Regions from separate parts of the Homo sapiens genome. Here all the other regions are linked to region 1. The links are contacts of gene promoters, found by promoter capture Hi-C in blood cells and fetal thymus (Javierre and others, 2016). All regions are on one chromosome and are shown on one strand. Each heading gives the region's core, a stretch centred on a gene start or on the middle of the fragment in contact. The rest is flanking DNA. Distances are from core to core; before and after follow the strand shown.

Region 1 (3,787 bases), core at 921-3,420:
TGCAACCTCTGCCTCCCAGGTTCAAGTGATTCTCATGCCTCAGCCTCCTGAGTAGCTGGGACTACAGGCGCGTGCCACCAGGCCCAGCTAATTTTTGTGTTTTTTAGTAGAGATGGGGTTTTGCCACGTTTGCCAGGCTGGTCTCAAACTCCTGAACTCAGGTGATCCGTCTGCCTCAGCCTCCCAAAGTGCTGGGATTACAGGCATGAGCCACCACACCCAGTCCATATATTAAGAATCTTACATGAGAACCACAAGAATTGCTCAGGAAAAGATTTTTCTCGTTTATGTTGCCTATCTTGCTAAATTCATTTTTATCTCAAGTCCTAGCACTCAGTAAGATGAAAGAAGAACTATCAGAAAGGCTGTAGAGTGATGGTCAAGGTGACTGTCTCTGTCTCAGATCAAAGGCATACCTCATCCTCTTCCTGCCAATGAGTCAGCCTGCCCCCTTTTCCTTGAGATGTCTGAGGGAAACACCCTACTTTGCTCTGAGGGGCTCATCTGAGATTTGGCAACTCTCTCTCTCACACACACATGTCTCTGACATAAACTGGTTGTGTTCCAGGGTCTCCCCATTTTCTCTTGGGCACCCTTCATTCATGCTGTCAAGTATCTGCAGTCAGATGACAGTATTTGTTGGGAGCTTATATGATGGTGGCAGAGGCTAGAGATGAGAGCATGTCTGCTGGAGCCAGTAAGAGCTGTGTAACCTCAGCCACGGTAAATAAACTTTTGTTTCAGTTTCTCTGTATTTAAGATGGTGGTAGCAGCAGAGCCTACAGCACAGGTTTGTTGGGAAGATACCGTAAATGGAGCCTAAGATGTGCTGTGCACACAGGAAGTGCTCAGTCAATTGAATGAATATTATTCTGTTCCTTGGAAATTATCTTTATGTTCCTTTGGATTAGGCGGAAATAAGCTGGCAGAAGCATTACCTGTAGGTGAGGTTGTATTTTCTCCACCCAGGGAGGGTGTAGCCATACTGGCCCACATCAGGCACCCCACACCTGGGTGTCTTCATGATCTCAAGGGTGTTTGAGTCCAGTTTTCCAGTCACTGTCAATCCAAAAAATGCTTGCATTTCCCGAATTTTGTCATCTATGAGACTCCTATTCTTGCTTTGAACAAGATGATTCCCTTCTATTTCAAGAGAGTAGAACTGGTTGAGATATGCCTGACCAAAAAGATAAGAAAAAAAAAAAAGAGGCACAGACTACAGGAGAGCAAATCTCCATCTCAGGATAAAGCAAAATTGCCTAAAATTCCTTCTGGCAATAGGAAAGGGGAAAAAAAAGAAGTAATGAGAGAAAGTGAGGAGTGAAGGAGGAAAGAAGAAAGGAAGGACACAAAGAGGAAAATAACGAGTCACCCTGCTCTTTCAATTTCCAAGACTTGGTTGACTTATGAGTGACCAGAATTAGCCAAAGCACGCAGCTCTTAAACCTCCACAGAAGAGAATGAAGCTTCGTCTGTCTGTTGAATGATGACCTATCTTACATATTTTTGCTGTTACTTTCATTTTGGTGTTTCTTTGAAACAAGTTCTAGGATAAATAAGTGATTATCCATTTTGCACATGTATTTGCTTTAACCAAAAATAAAAAGTTAACTGAACTGATTTTTAGAGGGAATCTGTAAAGCAATGTATTTTTTTTCATACATATAGGGATTAGGGCTCCAAATTGTAGATTGGGTCCTCCTGGTTGTCTTGAAATGCTTTTATAGTGATCTCCATACCTTGCAGGGCTCTCTCCTTTCTCCTCGCACTAAACATCCCTTCATTTGTGACCATTGCTAAAAGTTATAGCAGATCCTTTCCCCCTCCCTGTGCCAGCCCTCCTCCCCAACACAATTTCCTGATATCGTCAGAGATAGACAAATGAAAAGCAGTTCCTTCTCACAAAAAAGTTCAGGACTCTTTTGCAGGAATGTGTTTTCTTTTTAGGTCCCAAGAGAATCAATAAAATAAGCTTTTTATCAATAGTCATCGATATCATTTATTAAGACAGTACCTGAGCCAGTTGCATATTTTCTTCATTTTCCGTCATCCGGACTAAGGGAAATGCAGAAGAAAATGTTATAAAGAACAAAAACAGAAGCAGAAGGCGCTTCATTCCTCTCTTTCTTCAGCTGAAGCCGGTTCTGTTAGCACAGAATTTAGAAAATAATAGTGAGACGTGGCATGAATTGGCTTGTATCATCATTTAATTAATAACAGAAAGGGACACTTGCCATAAAGTGTGTCATGATTTGCTTTTTTTTTTTTTTTTTTTTGACTGAGCTGATTTTGTAATCTTGGCCTGCAATTGTTTAGTAAACACAGTTAGTGCTTATTACTGAATTGAATATACTGGGAAGTGAGCCTCCAAGTTATTTTTTTTTCCTTGCAAAGTTTTCTTTTGAAGGCAATCTCAGAATATCTTGGTAGGATGTTATCATAAAAAGACAAATGAATCAGGAGTCAGATTACCCTTATTAACTAAGATAAACTTCAAATGTTTATTGAATTCCTACTGTTTGCCTGCCCCTGTGAATGCAATCTTGTTGGAGAATTCAGACACATACAGAAATTAATGTAGGACAAAAAGGAGGCAAGTGGGCAAATACACAGTGCAGATTGTAAAGACTAAGAAGGGCCAAAGGCAGATCATTGCTTATGAGTGTGGCCTTGAGGTTTTATGCAAGTTAAATACAGCCTGCACTGGGGCTTGCACTAGGGCTTGCTCTGGGTTTTGGAGAATGTGTAGAATTTGGATTTACAGAGGAAGGAAGAAGAAGTATGAGTGCAAAGAGGCCATGGGAAGGAGGTAACACAGCAGAAATAAGCTGCAGGAAATCTGGCCTGACTGGAACAAAATACATATGTAGACAGCTATGGAAGATGGGATGGAGGGTCTCATGGACAAGACAGCTGACTGGGAAGATGAAGAGTCATAGAGGTCATGGATGATGAAGGCCAAAATTAACATCAGAAGTGAGAATATAGTTAGTGAGAGCCTTTTGGATTAATTTCAATATATTCTTCTTTACTTGGGCTACTTTTAGATGAAGGAACAGTCTTAGTTACAGCAATGTCCTCCCTCACTTGTCCTCCCCTTTTCTTCTACCAATTATTAAAATTTTCTTCCCTTTCTTCCCAAATGTTAACTCCTCAATCGATACACCTTTCTAAATCTTCCTTGTCCATATCCTAAACAAAATTTATATGGCATAGCTGAGGAACTTATAGGATCTAAGTAGATACATACTTCCTTTGCATTTAAAGCTCATCCCAGTTATAAATCTTGTTTCAGAAATATTATTATTTACTGTTTTAATATATGTATATAGTTTAAATTGTTTAATTGGCCTCTGGAGCAATGGGATGAAGGGGAGAAGGCAGACATGATCAGGATTTGTGTTATAATGGTATTAAGTACAAGTATGCTAAGTACAAGTATGCTCATTGTATTGTTCTTTTGTGTTTTTTAAACTCTAAAATATTTCAGAACAAAATTTAAAAAAAAATAGAGTTACCAGAAAAAGGGAAGTCAAATGGTGCTATCTTGTTGTAACGAAAAAGCATCTCTCTGCCCTAACCTTTCGCTCCTTCAAGTCCTGCTCCCCAAAGGTAACTTCTTTAAATTATTTTTATAGCTTTTTATCTTTATGTTTAACTCCACATTTGTAAATAACGTGCTTATGCTACTATTTCTCGAGTTTTCAAAGTTAAATGTTATTATTAACATCTTCCTATGGAAAAGAAGGACTTAACACTCCTTCTGCTTTCCTAATTTGGTTATAGG
Region 2 (3,787 bases), core at 1-2,500, 230 kb before region 1:
ACTGGCTGTGACCAATTATCATTTTAGAGAGATGGTTAACAACCACCTGACCATCACCTGATGGTTGCCTGATATTCCCGGTGGTGTTGGGGGTGGGGGGTCCTCTGCTGCCCTGCTCATGTCTGACTAGTTACCTACTGTAACAAGCCCATTAGGTGGTTACGTTTATAGCAAGGCAGATTGCACATCCTGGGACATCTTAGTAGAAGCGAGTGAGAAAGGCTTATTTTAGGATTTGGGCTTGTATTAGGTGATACTGAGAAGTGGAGCTTTGCCAGGATTGGTTGCTATCAAGGGAGTAGAGGCAATTTTATGACTGGGTATTTTAACAAATCTTATTGAAGGGGGCAGGAATAAACTGAGTCTAAAACTTTAATTGGCAGAGGCAAGATCCTCTCATATTAGCTAGGATGGGGGATATTTTGGTTATTTTTGTGGTTTGGACATGTTTGTTTTTCTGTTCAGACATCGTGATGGAGTGCTCTTGTTTTTGTCATGATCACAGAGTGCTCTGGTCTGACGTTAATGTTCAGTGAAACTGTTTATGTTCCACACCAAGGCCTAAATATGAGTGCCAGGCCAGCTTTCAGTTGTCAGGGGCTGCTTTTTCCTTTCTTATCTCTATGGGGTGATATAGTTCCTGTAAGGGTAAAAACTTTGGAAGGATAAAGGAACAAAATGTGGTGGATTGCTATAGAGGACTAGCATTGATCCTCAAACTTTGACATGCATCAGAATCTCCTGGCAGACCTATGAAAATATGGGGGCTGCCCCCTCCGCCAGAGTTTCTGATTCAGTAGGTCTAATGTGAGACTTGAAAATTTGCATTTCTAACCAGTCCTCAGGTGTTGTCTATGCTACCAGACCACACTTTGAAAACCACTGAAGTAGATGGAAGTATCAAAAGTGAGGATGATTACAGTGTAAGAAAACTGACCCAATAGGGTTATCTGCAATTCTCAAGATAAAAATCTAGAGTGGGCCAGCTGCAGTGGCTCATGCCTGTAATCCTAACACACTGGGAGGCCGAAGCGGGTGGATCATCTGAGGTCAGGAGTTCGAGACCAGCCTGGCCAACATGGTGAAACCCTATCCCTACTAAAACCACAAAAATTAGCCGGGCATGGTGGCGCATGCCTGTAATCCCAGCTACTCGGGAGGCTGAGGCAGGAGAATTGCTTGAACCCAGGAGGCGGAGGTTGCAGTGAGCCGAGATTGCACCACTGCACTCCAGCCTGGGCCACAAGAGTGAGACTCCATCTCAAAAAAAAAAAAAAAAATCTAGAGTGGTCTCTATGTGACTCTCTAATGCAATTCTAACACTGTATGATTGTGCATTTTCCTATTTTAAATTACCAGTCTTTCAGAGGGAAGAGTATATAAGAAGATTCTTCCCAAAATAATTTGTGCAAATTGTTGACAGCCGAAGTTTGTAATGCACATAAAAGTAAAACTTTTATGTGTTTATTGTTCATTTTCCAGGAAGTTCTCAATTACAAATAGGCAGATTTATTTTAGGGAAACAGATTAGTAAAACCAGTTTTTCACTAGATTATTTACAAATTGTCTCACTATACGTTATACATATTACATGCAAAGGAGGCCTTATGATCCTTTTTTAACTATTCTCTCATCAATATTAAGATAGAATTCTTTAAAAGGAATGTAACTGCTCACCCTTTTGAAGTGTTTAAATGTCTTCACTAAAAATTTGACATTTTCTACTTGATTTGGTTTACTTTTTCCTGAAAAAAGTGAACACAGTGAAAGGAAGTGATAAATAGGGATGCAAATGGGTTATCCTTTCTTGTTCTAAAAAATTAGTCTTAAGTTTATTTTTCTCTCTATAGGAGATAAAAGATGTATGACATGGACCACTTATGGTTTAAGCTGAATTGCCTCTGTCTTATAATTTTTACTGAGATTCAGTTTATGTTTGACCTAAAAAATTTAAGTATCATACAAAGAGTTTATATAAGAACTTAATATAATTTTCTATAGCTCTTTTAACAAGTTGTAAACTATTTTATTAACCCTTTCTTTAAAAGGCTACCAAGAAGCTGATAATTCATGAGAAACAGATAAAATGACTATAAATTATTCCTCTCAAATAGGACATTTGGCCCTCTTTCTAAAATAATTTCATCATCTCTTTAGAGAGAATAAATAGTCTTTGGCAGGGAGCTAGATCTTGCAGATCTAACAGGGGGTTTTCCGTGTTGCATCAGAATAAGAATTCAAATAGAATAAGATAATTAACTTGAAATTCCAGGCTTGGGTCCACTCCTGACTATCTACTGGACCAGGAGCCTGTCTTGTGCCTTGCTCTGATGAGTAATTAACTTCAGTTTCTTCATTTGTGAAGTAAAGGGCTTAGACTAGATCATCTTTAGGGATTCCCTGAGCTCTGAAATGTTTACACTGTTAGAATAGGCCTAAGGCTATCAGTTTCAATTATGTTGTACTCATCTGTTTCACAGCTCTTCTTGAATATTTTGTTCAATATCAGAAGGATGTTGAGAACAGGGCATGTAAGGAGATGGTGAAAGGTCTAGGAACATGTTAGTAAGAATTGGAGGAACGGAGCTTGGAAAAGTGGTTCAGGGTGGGAGAAGTATGAGATCTTTTTCTCTGAAAAATATGGAATCTCTCATGTGAAGAAGGCAAACATGTATTCCAAGAACAATGGGTGAAACTTGCAAGGAGACAATTTCAGTTCCTATATACCCCTTTATCTCCAACTTCCAGTCCCTGATCCTCCAGAAGATCTTTTGATCTCTGGGCCACTGGCTTAAACTCTCCTCCAAATCCAGTCCCACCTCCTCCACAAATTTTTATGTAAGTTCTAAAACTCCAGCTTCCCTAGAAAATCCTTTAAACATCAACTGCCTGCTTTATCTTTCCTTTCCTTGCAAAATTTTCAGAGAGCACTCCAGCCTGATCTCTAGGCTCAGAGTATACAGGTCACTTGTGTCAATGCTGACAGCCAGAAAATAAACCTGGCACAGGCCCTGGTACGTGCAGCTAGTCTTGCTTTGCTGTACCTTACAACTCCTCCTACTTCCTGGTGTTCTGTAATCAGACTCCTCAGCCACAGACCTTCCTATACAATGCCTCCTGTGAATATATCCTGGATCCCTACTGCAAAGAATTCATGTCCCTTGGACAGAAACAGATCTTCTAAATTACAAAGCCCTTTTGTCTCCACTTTTGAAAGAGCCTATCAAATTTAGAGAGGAGTTAGAAAGATTAGTGGCCATTTATAACCCCATTCATAGGAACCTCCACTGGCTACTAAGGGGTGTTCTTTACACCCATGATTATACTGTGGTTATCAGACATTCCAGAAAGCCCCCAAATGAATGTCTTACCTCTAGAGGGAATAAGTGGCCAGAACTTCTCCCAGGTCCTCCTACAATTGACCAGGAAATGGCTGAGTTATGGGGCCTGATAGGGACAATATTAGAGGCCTTTTCCTCTAAGGTGAAGTGGTCTAGGGTTGAATTATGTACTCAGAAGAAAGGGGAACATCTTAAGGCCTATATGGAATGATTTATACAAACTTTTGAAAGGTTCACTGCATTAAATTCTGAAGCCCTAGGACATGAACAATTTTTAAATTCTGCCTTGGTTAGAAATCACCCTGATACAAAGAGGCAAATCCAAAATAGTGTCATTGGCTGGACAGGTCATTCTCTGAATGTTATTATAGAAGGAGCTATGCAATTCTTTAAAAATAACTTGCAGGAAAATAAGAGGAAAAACGGATTAAAGTCAATAGTACTTG
Region 3 (3,787 bases), core at 531-3,030, 230 kb after region 1:
GAAGATAGTAGGAATGTAAGAAGGAAGGAAGGATGGAAGGAAGGAAGGAAGGGAGGGAGGAAGGAAGGAAGGAAGGAAGGAAGGAAGGAAGGAAAGGGAGGGAGGGGAGGAAAGAAGGAAAAAAGGGAAGGAGGGAGAGGGAGCTGGGATCTAGGAATAACCAATAATACTTCATGTTAATACATACTTTATCATTTACATGTTTCAAGGATGCTATTTTATATAATCTTTAGAGCAACCTGTGAGGTAGGCAAGGCAAGTATTTCTATCTTCATTTTAATGCACAAGAATGTGAAATACAGAGGTGCTTGAAAGTGCTAGAGCTCAAATTCAAACTTTGATATTTTATTTTTTTGGCATTACTGTGCTGCATTATCACATTTGACAGCTGTGCTGCTGTGGCCAAAACACCAAAAGAAATTCTGGGTATCTCCAGAGAGGGAATTTAAATGTGTATCTTTGGGTCTGCAGAGGCTGTGGGACCACCTCTAGTCTTGGGCTGTCGATCTTCCAGTCGCTGTGCTCTAGGGCTCATGTGCTCTTATTGTGGTCCATGCTGCAGGAAAATAGGACTAGGTGGATGTAATAGCTCCCCTGATGAGCACACACATACACACACGCTCCAGACAGCATATTCCACTTCTGCACTGTTTAATGTGTACTCATTTGGGGTGGGAGGCACATCTCCCAAGTGCCCTTTGGGCACAGCAGTTTGTAGCAGGGTGAATAGCTGCAGAATATGCAGTCTTTTCTTTCTCTTATTCCATTCCAAGGCCCCTTATTTCCTCCCATTTCTCTTCCCTTTCTCCTTGCACACTGTAATCAGCTTCTGTTGTCTAAACCCTCCTCTAAGCCAGTGACCAGCATTTCATACACAGGGGTGTTTCTGAGTCAGAATAAGACCATGAACCTGGGAAGCTTTGTAGCCAACATGACTCTCACCAAAGCAGAAAACCTGCTAGATTCATTCAAGGTCCTACAGCCAGCCCTGGCCTGCGGGTGATCATCACAGTCACCTCGTCACCATAGCTCAGGTACAGGAACCATCACAACGGGGACTGCCAGCCTGGGAGGGCATGCCAAAGTCGCTATCCTTTGTCACAGGTAAAAGATGAAACTACTCAGTGCCACACAGATAAAATGAGTCTCTGTCTTAACAGAGCGGTTGTCTAGGGATTGTAGTAGAACTATACTACCTCGGAGAGAAGCTACACGGGGAGTCACTGGAATACTGGAAGTTTTTGCACTTTCATTGAGGGTAAGAAGGGAGACCCAATTAATTTCAGGGGCCTGTTATTTCCCAGACTACTCTGCCCTTGGTCACCAAGTATGTTGCCAGTGGTCAGCAACCATGAGAATGTACCTACTTTGCCATGGGAATGATGTGTAACCCTAGGTGGTAAAATTATATAGATCAAATAATCTGATATCTTGCAACTCTAACCTGCCAGTCAATTTATATGATGAACTAAATATGTCCTGCTACTTTTAATTTTTTTTTCTTTTGAAGTGTCTTTTGTATGTTATTCTGGCACTTTTTACTTAAACTTCTCACATGAGTGGCTTGGCTCAGTTTTAAACCTAAACCTAATTTTAGTTCCTCCCTGAGAAATATACCAACAACCTCAGTAATCAGAATTGACTTGCTATATACACAGTATTGCTATCCCTAGTGAATTAGGAAGGAATGAACAAAAACTCAGAGTTAAATTTTATTTTAAGAAATTTGGACGACAGTTTTATTAATGGTAGCTTGCCCACCTCCTGAGAGCTCCAGCTATGGGAATTAGCCTAGAGGGGATATACAGAGAGCCTTCTCAAACTTGACTCAATTCTGATGATTGTGATTTCATGTTCAGTAACATACATTCAGCTGGTATAAAACTATGCTTCTACAGGGTGTGTTTTTACCCCCAGGTCCAAAGTCTTAATCCTTCTTCACTAAGTAAAGAATCATCAATGACTATACCACTGAAGGGAACACCTTAAAGTATCTTCTTCCTTTTCTCGAGGAGGAATTGGGAGTTGATAGCATCAACTGTCAGTTACTACTGGAGCTGGCAGAGAGATATGAACATATCCTCCGGATAGCGTGAGACACGTTTCAGTGATCTAAGGGTATGGCCATGTCGATGTGCTGTCTGTGGAATGACTACATACACTCCACGTGGTTTTAAAAGAATGGGTTAAGGCTCAAGAGGATTTGGTGTTTTCAGCAACTCTATGAATCCTCAGAGTTGATTCAATTACTGATGTAGAAATAAAGGCAGGCATATGTTTGGAAAAAATGACTACCTTGTACTTCAGCTGACTGGGTCATATGGCATGGCCAAGTTGTGTAAGTATGGGAGTAAATAGGTTCAGGGAAGCATTGGATGTCGACACTTTTTGTCTGTGCCCACTTGAGGATCCAGCAAGATTTTAGTCTCAGATGTTTTATGTCCCAAGTACAGTGCTTCCATCATCCCATCTGGTCTTCACCTTTCCCTGAGAGAAATTCCTGATGACTGGCTAATATTCTTTGTATTTTAGAAACCACTGGGTCGTTCCCCCTTGGCTTTGTATATGCTCAGGAAATACAGATGAATTTTAAAACTAGCCTAACTAAGATATCTAGTAAAAGAAAAACTGTTTCCTCAAACAAAGCTTAAACTTTATTCTGTGGACCAATAATAATGCATCTTTTCTTGGGCATTTGTTCCTGTTTCCTAAGCCACCATATTCCCATGCCAATAATCACCATTAGTGTGGATAGTTCAGTAGTTGGCTAAAAGGTCGAATGGTCTTCACAAAGGGCAGAAGGATCTTCTGATTCCACCACCCATCGAGGAAGGACCCTCTGTTTGTCCAGAACCAAATGAAGGGAGGCAAGACTTATTAGTTGCAAATAAAAAAAACCATGATTCATGTTTTTAGTTTTAATTCTAGATTTTTTTTTGAATTTTTAAAACAGAACTTTATGTCCTCAAAAATACACAGTAGATATACGAACACTTAATTATTTGACTAAACTGAGAAGTGGCCCTGAGGTTGTACAGACAGAGGAAGTACTTGAGGACCACTGCTGTAAACCTGAAAGAATGACTTCAGATACTGGTGTTGAGGGTGAGGTTTGTGTGTGATTTCGTGAGACCTCTCACCCATACCTCTACCACACATGACCCACTTTTACCGCCATCTTCAGGATTGAGGAAGTAGCAGCTATGACTTACTGAGCACTTGCTATGTGCCAAGGAGTCTGCTAAGTGCTGTAGATCCATTCTTTCAGTTTAGTGCATAGTTCTAGAGGTAGAATGGCTGGGTTCAAATCCCAGTTCTTCCACATACTGGTTGTGTGACCTAGGGCAAGTCTCTTCACCTCTCTGTGCTTTCTTCCTCACTCATAAGAACAAAAATAGAACTTTTGTGACAATAAGTTAATTAATGTATGTGAAGCATGTAAACATCCCTGGCACATAGAAAAGTATACATGTTTGTTACTATTATCAGCCATATTTTAGAAACTGAGACTTGGAGGGGCTACTTAGTTTCTTCAGTGTTTCACATCATTCTTCTGGGAGCAGGTTAAGAACTGCCTTGAGGCTGATTTACATAATGTTTTATAGATAATTTATTGTCTGTATTATCACATTGGCTCCAATTTCTTTACTGCAGCCACCCAGGACCATCCTCATCATCAAACCAATACTCCTGGCTAGGTGTGGTGGCTCACACCTGTAATCTCAGCACTTTGGGAGGCTGAGGCGGGTGGATCACTTGAGCTCAGGAGTTCAAGACAAACCTGACC
Region 4 (3,787 bases), core at 709-3,208, 210 kb after region 1:
TAGGTTATATCGTTGTTTGGATTTTTTTAAACTTTTTGTTACATTAATTTTTTTATTAGTTTATTTTAAGTCATATTCATTGAAGTATAATTTACATACATAATTATGTATAATTTTCATACAGTAAAATATGTATAATTTTCATACAGTAAAATTTATACTTTGCTGAGTGTTGGCAAATTAAGATGCAAACCACAAAATATAAACCATCTAAGGGGTTATGTCAGCAAGATAGCAGAATAGGAAGGGCCAGACTCTACTTCCCTGCGGGGAGACACTGAATCAACAAGAATACATAAATCAATTCCCTTTATAAGAAAACCAGAAACAAGTTAGGAGGTTCCTGCACTTCAAGGGAAGGCAAAACCAGCCTCACTAAAGCCAGTAGAAAAACTCATGGCACTCACTCACCATAGTCCTTTCTCCCATTTCAGTGTGAATTATCAAAAGAAAACTTCTAGCTACTGTCTTCTGCTTGCGGAGGGAAAGAGAAGGCTAGACAGTACATCCAACATTCAGACTCTTTAGGGGGCTGGTCAAGGGACTGGTTTCTGTCTTGCCTGAATCTAAGTGCAGACAGGAAAGAGTGTCAGGTTGAAGGCTGCTAAGAACAAAGGTGAAGATTTGCAGCACTCACTTGATGTACTTGCTCCTCCTGGCTCATTGTAAAATAAGTAGGAGAAAACCACCAACTCCTGGCTTTTCCCTGGGGAGGAAAATTACTGGAGCATGTGTTCAATGTTCTAGTTTTTCAGGGAGCTGCCAAGGGATTGGTTTCTGTCTCACCTGTCTCAGAGCACTGACAGGACCTGACAATATAGAGATGTAGGGACCACTGACAACAAAAGAATTGGGCAGCTTGATACTGCTTAGGAGGACCTGTGGTATAGCAGATAGAGGCCAACACAGCTCCATAGCCTCCTCGTTGGGGTAGAAAGAGAAGAATTCCATGTATGTCCATGTTCCAACTATTCTGGGAGCTGCCCAAGACACTGGTTTCTGTATCCCTAGTCTCACAGCACTGACAGGACCTGGAATATGCTAGAAGCCTGGAGGTTGCTAAAGCCAAAACAGAATGGGGCAGCTTGAAGCAGCTCCAGAAAATCTTCAGTGTTGCAGACAGACACCAGAGGGAGCAAGAGATCGTGAGCTCCTCCAAAAATAAACTGGCAAATCCCTCTAATTCAGAATTTATGTGCTCAAAGACAGAGATAATGCACCCACAGAAAAAGTTTGAGAGACCCCCAGAATCTCTAGCTGGGATAATTGGTGAGGGTATTTTCCTGTTCAAAGTCAGCCCATAAAGACTGGGAGAGGTGGCTGTTTTTTCAAATGTGTAGATCCCAACACAGTTACAAGGCATACAAAGAAACAGAAAGCCTGGCCCAATCAAAGGAACAAAATAAACCTCCAAAAAATGATCCTAAAGAAACAGAGGTATATGAGTTGCCTGAAAAAAGTCAAGATGTTATAAAGATGCTTAAAGAGCTCAAGAAAGTGATACATGAACAAAATGAGAATGTCAACAAAGAGAAAATATAAAAAAGATCCAAACAAAAATTCTGGAGCTGCAGAATACAATGTGAAGTTACAGTGGAAAGATCTTCCTCTATGAAGAAAGTGGGCCCTCACCAGGCACCAAATCTGCTGGCACCTTGATGTTGGACTTCTCGATTTCCAGAACTTTGAGAAACAAATTTCTGTTGTTTATGAGCAACACAGTCTAAGGTGTTTTGTTATAGTAGCCCAACAAATTAAGATAAGGGGTTCGACAGCAGACTTAGTCAAGCAGAAGAAAGAATCAGTGAACTCAAAGACAGATAAAATAGACTTTAAGTCAAAAATCATGACAAAAGACAAAGAAGGACATTATTTATTGATAAAAAGGTGAATTCACCAGCAAGATAAACAGCTATAAACATACATGCAACCAACATCCAAGGACCCAATTATATGTAGCAAACATTGATAGAAGTGAATAGGGAAATAGCAGTACAATAACAGTGGGAGATTTCAATACTCAACTTTTAAAAATGAGAAAACATTATTCACATGCAAAAAATGTAATTAGACCCTTATCTTATACCATACACAAAAATCAACTCAAAATGGATTAAAGACATATATATATGACCTGAAACTACAAAAACTCTAGAAGGAGACATAGGGAAAAACCTTGATAACATTGGTCTTGACATTGATTTCTTGGATATGACCCTAAAACCACAGGCAACAAAAGTAAAAATAGACGAGTGAGACACCATCAAACTAAAATGCTTCTGTGTAGCAAAGGAAGCCATCAACAGAGTCAACTTATGGAATGGGAGAAAATATTTGCAAACCATATATCTGATAAGGGATTAATATCCAAAATATATAAGAGACTCTTACAACTCAATAGCAAAAATAACTGATAACCCATTTTTTAAAAAAATTGGGCAAAGGACTGAATAACCATTTCTCCAAAGAAGACATACAAATGGCCAACAGGTATATGAAAAGATGTTCAACATCACTAATTATCAGAGAAACGCAAATCAAATCTACAATGAGATATTACTGCACACCTGTTAGGATAGCATCATTAAATAAAACAGAAAATAACAAGTGTTGACAAGGATGTGAAGAAGTTAGAACTTTAATATACTGTTTGTGGGGATGTAAAATTGCGCAGCCACTGTGGACAAGAGTTTGAAGATTCCTCAAAAATTAAAAATAGAACTACCAAGTGATCCAGCAATACCACTTTTGAATGTTTATTCAAAACAACTGAAAATAGGATGTATTTGCACTCCCATGTTCAATGAAGCATTATTCCTAACAGCCAAGATGTAGAAATATCCTAAATGTCCATCGACAGATGGATGGTTAGAGAACATGTATTAGCCAGGTGTGGTGACTCACGCCTGTAATCTCAGCACTTTGGGAGGCTCAGGTGGGCAGATCGCTTGAGGTCAGGAGTTTGAGAACAGCCTGGCCAATATGGTGAAATCCCATCTCTACTAAAAATACAAAATATAGCCAGGCATGGGGGCATGCACCTGTAATCCCAGCTACTCAGGAGGCTGTGGTACCAGAATCGCTTGAATCTGGAAGGTGGAGGTTGCAGTGAGCTGAGACTGAGATTGTACCACTGTACTCCAGCTTGGGTGACAGAACAAGACTCTGGAAAAAAAAAAAAAAAGAGAGAAAAGAAAAAGAAAGAAAGAAGGAAGGAAGGAAGGAAAAATGTATTATAGGCTGGGTGTGATGGCTCACGCCTGTAATCCAAGCAATTTGGGAGGACAAGACAGGCAGATTACCTGAGGTCAGGGGTTCGAGACCAGCCTGGCCAACATGATGAAACCCCATCTCTGCTAAAAATATGAAAATTAGCTGGGCGTGGCAGCAGGCGCCTGTAATCCTAGCTACTTGGGAGGCTGAGGCAGGAGAATCGCTTGACCCCGGGAGGCAGAGATTGTAGTGAGAGTGAGCAGAGATGGTGCCCCTGTACTCTAGCCTGGGCAACAGAGTGAGACCCTGTCTCAAAAAAAGTGAAAATGTAGTATATAGGGGTGTGTGTGTGTGCGTGTGTGTATATATATATACATATATATATGTGTGTATATATATATATACACACATATATATATGTGTGTATATATATATATATACATAAAGATATATTATTCAGCCTTAAGAAATAAGGAAATCCTGTTAGAAATCCTAACCTTGAGGAAATCATGCTAAATAAAATCAAACTTTAGGCACCTTGAGGAGATCATGCTAAATAAAATAAACCAGTATT
Region 5 (3,787 bases), core at 432-2,931, 200 kb before region 1:
AGCTGAGTTCAATTCCTGGATATCCTTGTTAACTTTCTGTCTTGTTGACCTGTCTAATATTGACACTGGGGTGTTAAAGTCTCCCATTATTATTGTGTGGGAGTCTAAGTCTCTTTGTAGGTCTCTAAGGACTTGCTTTATGAATCTTGGTGCTCCTGTATTGGGTGCATATATATTTAGGATAGTTAGCGCCTCTTGTTGAATTGATCCCTTTACCATTATGTAATGGCTTTCTTTGTCTCTTTTGATCTTAGTTGGTTTAAGGTCTGTTCTATCAGTTCAAAGAACCCTGTCAGTGCCTCAGCAAAAAGAAAAGCCTGAGTGAAATTTCAATGATCCCTTTTCATTTTGATTAGAAACAGAAAGAAGTTCTTCAATCCGCTAGTGAATGAAATCAAAAATTCCTCTTTGCCAAAGGAATCACCTGAAATTTCTTTTATGTAAAAATTAAAAGAAAATATAAACTAATTGTTTGTTTTTTTTAATTTTTAAGGTCAGGGTACATGTGCAGGTTTGTTACGTAGGTAAACTTGCATCACAAGTATTTATTGTACAGATTATTTCATCAGCCAGGTGATAAGCCGAGTATCCTTTAGTTATTTTTCTTGATCCTCTCCCTTCTCCCACCCTCCATCAGGGTGTGTTGTTCCCCTCTATGGGTCCATGTGTTCTCATCATTTAGCTCCCACTTATAAGTGAGAACATGTGGTATTTGGTGTTCTGTCCCTGTGTTAGTTTGCTAAGGATAATGGCCTCCAGTTTACGGAAAATGACCAGAAACATCAGAAAGTTCATGGTGACAGGTATATAGAACTCTGAATTACTGCTTTTTAATTTATGCTTCTTCATTTTCTTCATAGGTAAATGTTGGTTTCTCCAAGGAACTTCAATAAGACTTTGTTTGTGGTAGCTCTTTTATGCCACCTGAAATTATTTTTAAAAAGCTTTACTGAGTTATAAATGATACACAGATAACTACACATATTTAATGTGTACAATTGGTTGAGTTTAGACATAAGTAAACACCCATGATATCAACACCGCAATCAAGGTAATAGAAATATCTAACACCACCCAGGGTTTCCCTGTGTTCCTTTATTTTTGTTTTTAATTAGAAATAACTCTGTATTTATTTCTTTCCAAGCATTATAGCAATACATATATTTCAAAAACCAGAATGCCTCTTCTCCTCCAAAGGATCTCATTTGAATCTAATGATATGGTAATTCTGGAAGTCAGATTCTCTCCCATCCCTAGGGTTTGCCTTGCCTTTTTTTTTTTTGTATTCTTTTTTTTTTTTTTTTTTGAGACGGAGTCTCGCTCTGTCGCCCAGGCTGGAGTGCAGTGGCGTGATCTCGGCTCACTGCAAGCTCTGCCTCCCAGGTTCACGCCATTCTCCTGCCTCAGCCTCCCGAGTAGCTGGGACCACAGGCGCCCGCCACCACGCCCAGCTAATTGTTTTGTATTTTTAGTAGAGACGGGGTTTCACCTTGTCAGCCAGGATGGTCTCGATCTCCTGACCTCGTGATCCACCTGCCTCGGCCTCCTAAAGTGCTGGGATTACAGGCGTGAGCCACCACCCTCGGCCTTTTTTTGTATTCTTATAGGTGGTCTCTGTGCCAAGGATCAGCATGAAGTATAAACTTAAGGTCTTCTCAGGTCTTTTCTGAGCCTGAGCCTACCCTAGAGCATGCATGATGGCTTTCTGATTTCCCTTGTATATGCAGTTGTCTGTTAAGGTTGTGTCTTCAGTGTCTGGTCCCAAAAGGGGAAAAAGAGAAAAATGAAGGAGGAAAAAGTGCTGGCCGTTTAAATCCCCTGGAAGTTATTTCAGTCAGTTGGGGAGAGCTTGCAACAGTGAGGGAGATGCAAAAACAATGGCCATAACCTCTTTGTGTGATCAGAAGCAGCAATCTGGAGATCAGAGCACAAATACCTAATAATTGCAGGACAGGGTCCTGTTCGTCCACCCTGGCTCTCAAAGTTGTATGAAAGTTGTATTATATAAAGCTGCTCCAGGAACAGGTGCACAATTGCCTGCCACTGGGCTTAGAGTGGGGGATGGGTAGCCGCTACTGTATTAAGAGCTGAAATTCACCAAAATTCACTACAATTTACTATCTAAGCTGTCCCCTGGAAGATGGAAGCCTTGCATTGACTCCAGAGTTCTAACATAGTTACATCAGACAGATTCTTCCAGTGCAATTGTCATCTAGGTGAGGAGCTAGATTTCTGGTAGTTCCAACTCTGCCATCTTCCTAGAATCCTCACCTGTGGTTCTTTTTAAAGTTCTCTTTTTCCTTAATTTCTTAGGCATTGATCTAATTATGTACTGTGGATAACTCAATTTTCTGTATTTTGGGAGTGACTTGAATGATTTAATAATTTGAATATAACCTTAATGGAAGTTTATGTTAGTGAAGCTTTCATTTAATTTCCGAAATAACTGTTTTTACACATATATATATATCCAATTCCATTAAGAAGCTGACAATCTAGAGTGGACTCCTTAATTAAACAGAAGATTGTTAATTCAATGAGGTAAGTGATGAATGTGAGGGGTAAAATGTTAGTTACCGAGGCAGCTCTTAAGAGGAGCATCTAAGCAGGTTTAGGTGAGTGTGAGATCAGTGAAGGTATTCTGGACGTCAAGACATATAGACTGAGAGGTGAAGAACTCCAGAAGTAGCCAGGTGAAGAGAAGTGGCTCCTTTTATATCAGTTTTAAACTCTGTAAGCTAGGTTGTTTCCCTTGTAGAGCCCCAATGAGTGATTCTGATAACACACGTTTTCCTTCATATCCTTGCTTTTCATAATAGAATTGGTAGCATTCGTAAATTTACTCCAGGGTGAAACAAAATATTTTGACATGTAAAGGATTCTAAAATCATAAAAGATTATCAACAAATAGTATCTTTTTAGTTGATCGTTCAATTTTAGAACTAGAAGGATCGTAAGTCTTGCTTTATAAAGGAAGGGAATTAAAATAAATGATGATCCGTAGCTAAGAGAAGAAAGCCCAAGTCCTCCCTACTAGTTAGAGCATAATTAGGATCAAAACAGAACTTCAGACATAGTTCAATATTTTTTCTGTTTCATATGATTATTTTTACATTAACAACAACAACAACAACTTAACAACAACAACAACAACGATGTGAGAACAGCTGTGGTTAGCTTCACACTAGGTTGGCACTGGGAGAAAAAAATAATTAACTTACTTTTTTATATACCACTTCAGTCACCTTTGATCTGGTCTTCATTCTGCATTGTTGGACTCTATTTTTCTGGAAAGTTTCATGGCAAAAATGGTGAATAACACCAACAAGGAGAGGAATACTACTACATTCTATTTTTTCCCTTTATAGTTAGATTCATTTGTTTTTGTGCTAGCATGGCCAAAAAATAATTTATTGGAAGAACATTAGAATGCTTTATGAAATCCTAAAGAAACCAATGAACAACCAGGGCGTGGGAAAGAAAAGTTTTACAGTATTTCTGGGATCTTCAGCAGCTTATTTGAAATATAGGGATCTTTCCTGTGGGATCTCACCACAAGCGAGACTCAGCTCAGAGCTCCCAGTCTCTAGGCCTCTCTATTCACTGTGGTTACTTTGTGGGGTCTATGTGCATACAAGGGCTTGCTCTGTTCAGGATGGTGTCTTTCAGGTTAGAACAGGGCCTGGAAAATGGTTGCTATGGTTTGGATACAGATTGTCCCCACTAAATCTCATGTTGAAATTTAACCCCCAGTGTGGTGGTGTCAGGAAGTGGGGCCTAGTGGAAG
Region 6 (3,787 bases), core at 455-2,954, 150 kb before region 1:
TGACAATGACTGCTTTTGAAAACAATTTAGTGGTATATATTAAAGCTGAACGTATGCATAGATTATGGCCAAACAATTCCACTTCCATATACTCTTAGGCCTTTACTTTCCCAAATGCATACGTATTAGTTATCTAATAATAAATCACTCCAAAACGTAATAGCCAAAACAACATTTATTATAGCAGGTTCTGTGGGTCAGGAGTTCAGGTGTGGCTGAGCTGGGTCTTCTGTCTCAGGGTATTTCACAAGGCTGCAGTCAGCCAGGGCTGTGGTCACCTCAAGGCCTGTTTGGGGGAAAATCCACTTCCAAGCTTACCAATGAAGTTGTTGTCAGGATTCAGCTCTTCATGTGTTGTTGGAATGATGACCTCAGGTCCGTACAGAAGTCTGTCCTCAATTCCTCGCCACTGAGACTCTCCATAGGGCAGCTCAAAACAAGGCAGCGGCTTCATCAGAGAAAGCAAGCAAGAAGAGTGAGAGTGAGAATGAGCAAGAGAGAGAGAGATCCCCAGCAAGTCCAAGGTCATGGCCTTTAATAACCTAATCTTAGAGAGCAACGCTCCATCATGTTTGCCATATTCTGTTTGTTATGAATCACTACATCCACTTCACACACAAGGGTGGGGATTACACAGGACAAGAATAGCCAGAGGCAGGAACCATTAAGAACTGTTTTAGAAGCTCTCTACCACATGGAGTTTCACTAATAGATACTCACAAGAATATTCATAGTTGCACCGTTTGCAACAGTTAAAGCAGGGAAACAACCCAATGTCCATTAGCAACAGAATGGACAAACATATTACAAATCATTGTAATATATTCATACAATTAAATTCTAAACAACAGTGAGAATGAACAAATTATACCTACATGCAGCAGTATGAATAAGACTTTCAGACATAATGATGAGCAAAAGGAATCAAACAAAAAAGAATGTATATTATACATGCTTGTTTCATTTCAAGGGTTTTATTCTTATTTAGAAATAAGTATAGCATAGATAACGAGCTTGGGAAAACTACTAATGTTCCCAATCTAACAAAGTAAAATCTTACAAAGCAGTTGGCTTATCTAACATCCTGACTCCCTCCATTTTGTGTTATAGCTGGAAGTTACTGGAAACCTTACCGAACTTCTTTTTCCCCTTGGATCTTATTTCTGAGAGACAGAGACACTCTTCAAAACTTACCCTCTTCCTGGGTAAAGAAGCAGTCCTTTCCATTAAGACTTCCATTTCAGAACTTTGGTGATACTTTATAATCTTTTTCTATCCTATTATAAAATAGCAATAGTAGACTTTACCAACAATATGGATTTAGTAACTCACATTGATCTAGACCACAGTGTACCTTTAAAGAACAGAAAATCTAAGTAAAAAATATTAGATATACTGAAAATTTAGTTGTGAGGCCTTTTGGGGTACAGAAAGCAATACCCCAAAATATGGTGCTTTGGCATGTTGAGTGCTTGGAATTAAAGAAAATTGAAGGAGCTTAGAAATAAGCCTCAGAACCAAGGTCTTTCTCTGACCTTCCCCTTCCTCCCTGTCTCTCTGATCCTTTTTCTTCATGAAGAAAGAAGGGACTCTGTGGAATTTTCTTCTCTGACTAAGAAAGCTTCTTACAAGGAGAATTGCAATTGTCTTAAAATATCCCTCCTAAGAATCACATGAAATAACCAGAAAAGATTAACCACTAGAGAAGAGGAGATACTGGGAGTCATCACCATGCCTAAACAGACTTTCCATCTATTCTTCTGAGGGCAGCTCCAGGAGATTAACTGGGAAGCTTTAACTGGATAATAAGACTACCTTTGTTCACTGTGAAGTTCTGCCCCTTGCCTTCTCACCACCTCCCTCCGAGCTCAAAGGAACTTTGTTATTTACTCCGTGCTGTATGAAGAAGGCTATATAAGCATCCGGACCTCATTGGATTATTGGGCAATCATTTTCCTGTGATTCTCCCATGCTTATGCACATTAAATACATTTTTTATGACTTTTTCTCCTATTAATCTGCCTTTTGTCAGTTTATTTTCAGCAAACCTTCAGAGGGCAAAGGTGAAGCTTTCCTTCTTTACCCTACAGGCCCTTGAGAGATCTTGAAATATATTCTTCATTACATTAAAGCAATTCTGTGCTGTGAGAAAGAATGGCAACTAGTCTCTGTCAATGTATTCAAAAAATTATTAGGAGGCTATTATGTGATAGGAAATATTTTCAGTGGTAGAGATAATTTTTCCTTTTCTACAACAAGCTTAAATTGTACTAAGTCACTTAATATTTATTTGTGTAGTCATTTATTGAACTAACACCATGTAACACGTTTTATGCACATTAGTAATCATTATTTTATTGTATCAGCTTTTGCTATGTAATAAATCACTCCAAACACAGTGGCTTAAAATAAACATTTTATCTAGCTTTTGGGTATCTATGGTTGGCTGGGATGTTTGGGAAGGCTGGGACTTTTGAGGCAGCTAAAATGGCTTAAATGGCTGACTTCTCTCTGTATAACCTCCCATTCTCTGGAAGACTAGCTGATAATTCTTCACATGGTGGTCTCAGGGTTTCTAACAGCAAGACAACTCAAGCTCCAATGTGTACATATTTTTCAATCCTCTGCTTGCATTACATTTGATAATGCCCTATTCAAGCCCAAATTGAAGTTTAGATTTAAGGAATAAAAAAATAAATTCCACTTCAATATAAAAGGAGTGGCAAATTCACATTTAAGTGGGCACATGTACAGGGCTGGTAAGAATTACTGTGGCCATTTCTGCAAACGGTTTACTGTGTTTAGCATCCCCATTTTTCATTCAGGAAAACAAACTCAAGGAGTAATTTGAGCAAGTTTATAAAGTCGGACAGGATTTGAACATAGAGGAGTGACCATCAACTTTATATTCTTCCCATATATCACCCTGCTTCTAGGTGGAGCGAGCTTCACAAACCACTTTTCAGAGATTGCCAACTCTGAGAAAAAGGAAAGATGTGACTTTGCGACAACCATTTTGCCTGCTGTAGGAAGGCAGTCAATACAAATGCACTCTTTTATGTCATTATGTCAGTGCTCTGGGCATAGTCAGTGCTCTGGGAAGTCTCCCAGGCAGCCTATTTTCCAGTACAAGGACTAGCTTAGACCGAGGCAATGAAAAATTCATGACAAGAGAGTTCAGAAAATGTAGTGTACTTGCTGCCTTCAGGTACCACTTGATTGACTTCTCTCATATTGGGCTCTGCAGTAGCCATGTAATAAAGCAAGGGTGGGAAATTCCATGTTGGAAGCCCTCTTCCTGGGGCTCATCCCTGAAGGCTGTATGGTTGCTGCCTAAGATGGTAAGGGTATCAGGCAGGTTTACGTGGTGTCTGTGGCCGTGGCAGTATGTACAGAGGACAGTGACCATAATAGTGTCATGGAGGGGAATCTTCCTAACGAGATTTAGTTTACTAAGTTAACATTGCAGGTATTACTTGAATTGTATTCCCTGCTATATGCAACTATTAAATTAGATTTTTTCTTAGGGATGATCCTCTTTATATTTTATTGATAAAAATTTAGTGACAATACTTCAGCTATTTCACAGAGTTGTATTTGCATTCTGACTAATTAGTTCAAAATGCTACCTCTAGTCTGGGCATGGTGGCTCATGCCTATAACCCTAGCACTTTGGGAGGCCGACACAGGAGGATCGCTTGAGCCCAGGAGAAAGAGACCAGCCTGGGAAACATGTGAGACTCTTGTTTCTACAAAAAAAATTTAAAAATTAGCCAGATGTGGGGGC

Evidence for each region. Contacts are between HindIII fragments. The CHiCAGO score rates a contact against its expected background, and 5 or more counts as called.
Region 2: a fragment that was not itself captured here is called in contact with the fragment with the promoter of MMP27 in region 1 in 2 of 17 cell types (M1 macrophages and M0 macrophages); the score reaches 6.1 in M1 macrophages.
Region 3: a fragment that was not itself captured here is called in contact with the fragment with the promoter of MMP27 in region 1 in 5 of 17 cell types (M0 macrophages, M1 macrophages, monocytes and 2 more); the score reaches 10.3 in M0 macrophages.
Region 4: a contact is called between a fragment that was not itself captured here and the fragment with the promoter of MMP27 in region 1, in 3 of 17 cell types (M1 macrophages, M0 macrophages and monocytes). The highest score is 6.4, in M1 macrophages.
Region 5: a fragment that was not itself captured here is called in contact with the fragment with the promoter of MMP27 in region 1 in 2 of 17 cell types (M0 macrophages and M1 macrophages); the score reaches 6.8 in M0 macrophages.
Region 6: a contact is called between a fragment that was not itself captured here and the fragment with the promoter of MMP27 in region 1, in 2 of 17 cell types (M0 macrophages and M1 macrophages). The highest score is 5.8, in M0 macrophages.

The regions. Positions count from the first base shown.
Region 1 is chr11:102,703,599-102,707,385 of GRCh38, forward strand. MMP27 (matrix metallopeptidase 27) reads right to left here and starts at 2,171. Exons shown (of 10, transcript NM_022122.3): 1 at 2,015-2,171; 2 at 939-1,177. The coding sequence starts at 2,116. The HindIII fragment of the contact is 3,149 bases long and covers 1,971-3,787 here.
Region 2 is chr11:102,473,979-102,477,765 of GRCh38, forward strand. All of the region lies in intron 1 of LOC124902740 (a long non-coding RNA gene), which reads left to right. The region is part of intron 1 of LOC102723838 (a long non-coding RNA gene); the gene reads left to right. Among named protein-coding and RNA genes, the nearest start is that of TMEM123-DT, 23 kb to the left of the region's middle. RefSeq lists a silencer at 2,923-2,972. The HindIII fragment of the contact is 5,404 bases long and covers 1-3,787 here.
Region 3 is chr11:102,930,690-102,934,476 of GRCh38, forward strand. No RefSeq gene overlaps it. Among named protein-coding and RNA genes, the nearest start is that of MMP13, 23 kb to the right of the region's middle. The HindIII fragment of the contact is 1,728 bases long and covers 917-2,644 here.
Region 4 is chr11:102,913,828-102,917,614 of GRCh38, forward strand. No RefSeq gene overlaps it. Among named protein-coding and RNA genes, the nearest start is that of MMP13, 40 kb to the right of the region's middle. The HindIII fragment of the contact is 6,898 bases long and covers 1-3,787 here.
Region 5 is chr11:102,505,496-102,509,282 of GRCh38, forward strand. No RefSeq gene overlaps it. Among named protein-coding and RNA genes, the nearest start is that of MMP7, 23 kb to the right of the region's middle. The HindIII fragment of the contact is 1,479 bases long and covers 943-2,421 here.
Region 6 is chr11:102,553,518-102,557,304 of GRCh38, forward strand. No RefSeq gene overlaps it. Among named protein-coding and RNA genes, the nearest start is that of MMP7, 25 kb to the left of the region's middle. The HindIII fragment of the contact is 171 bases long and covers 1,620-1,790 here.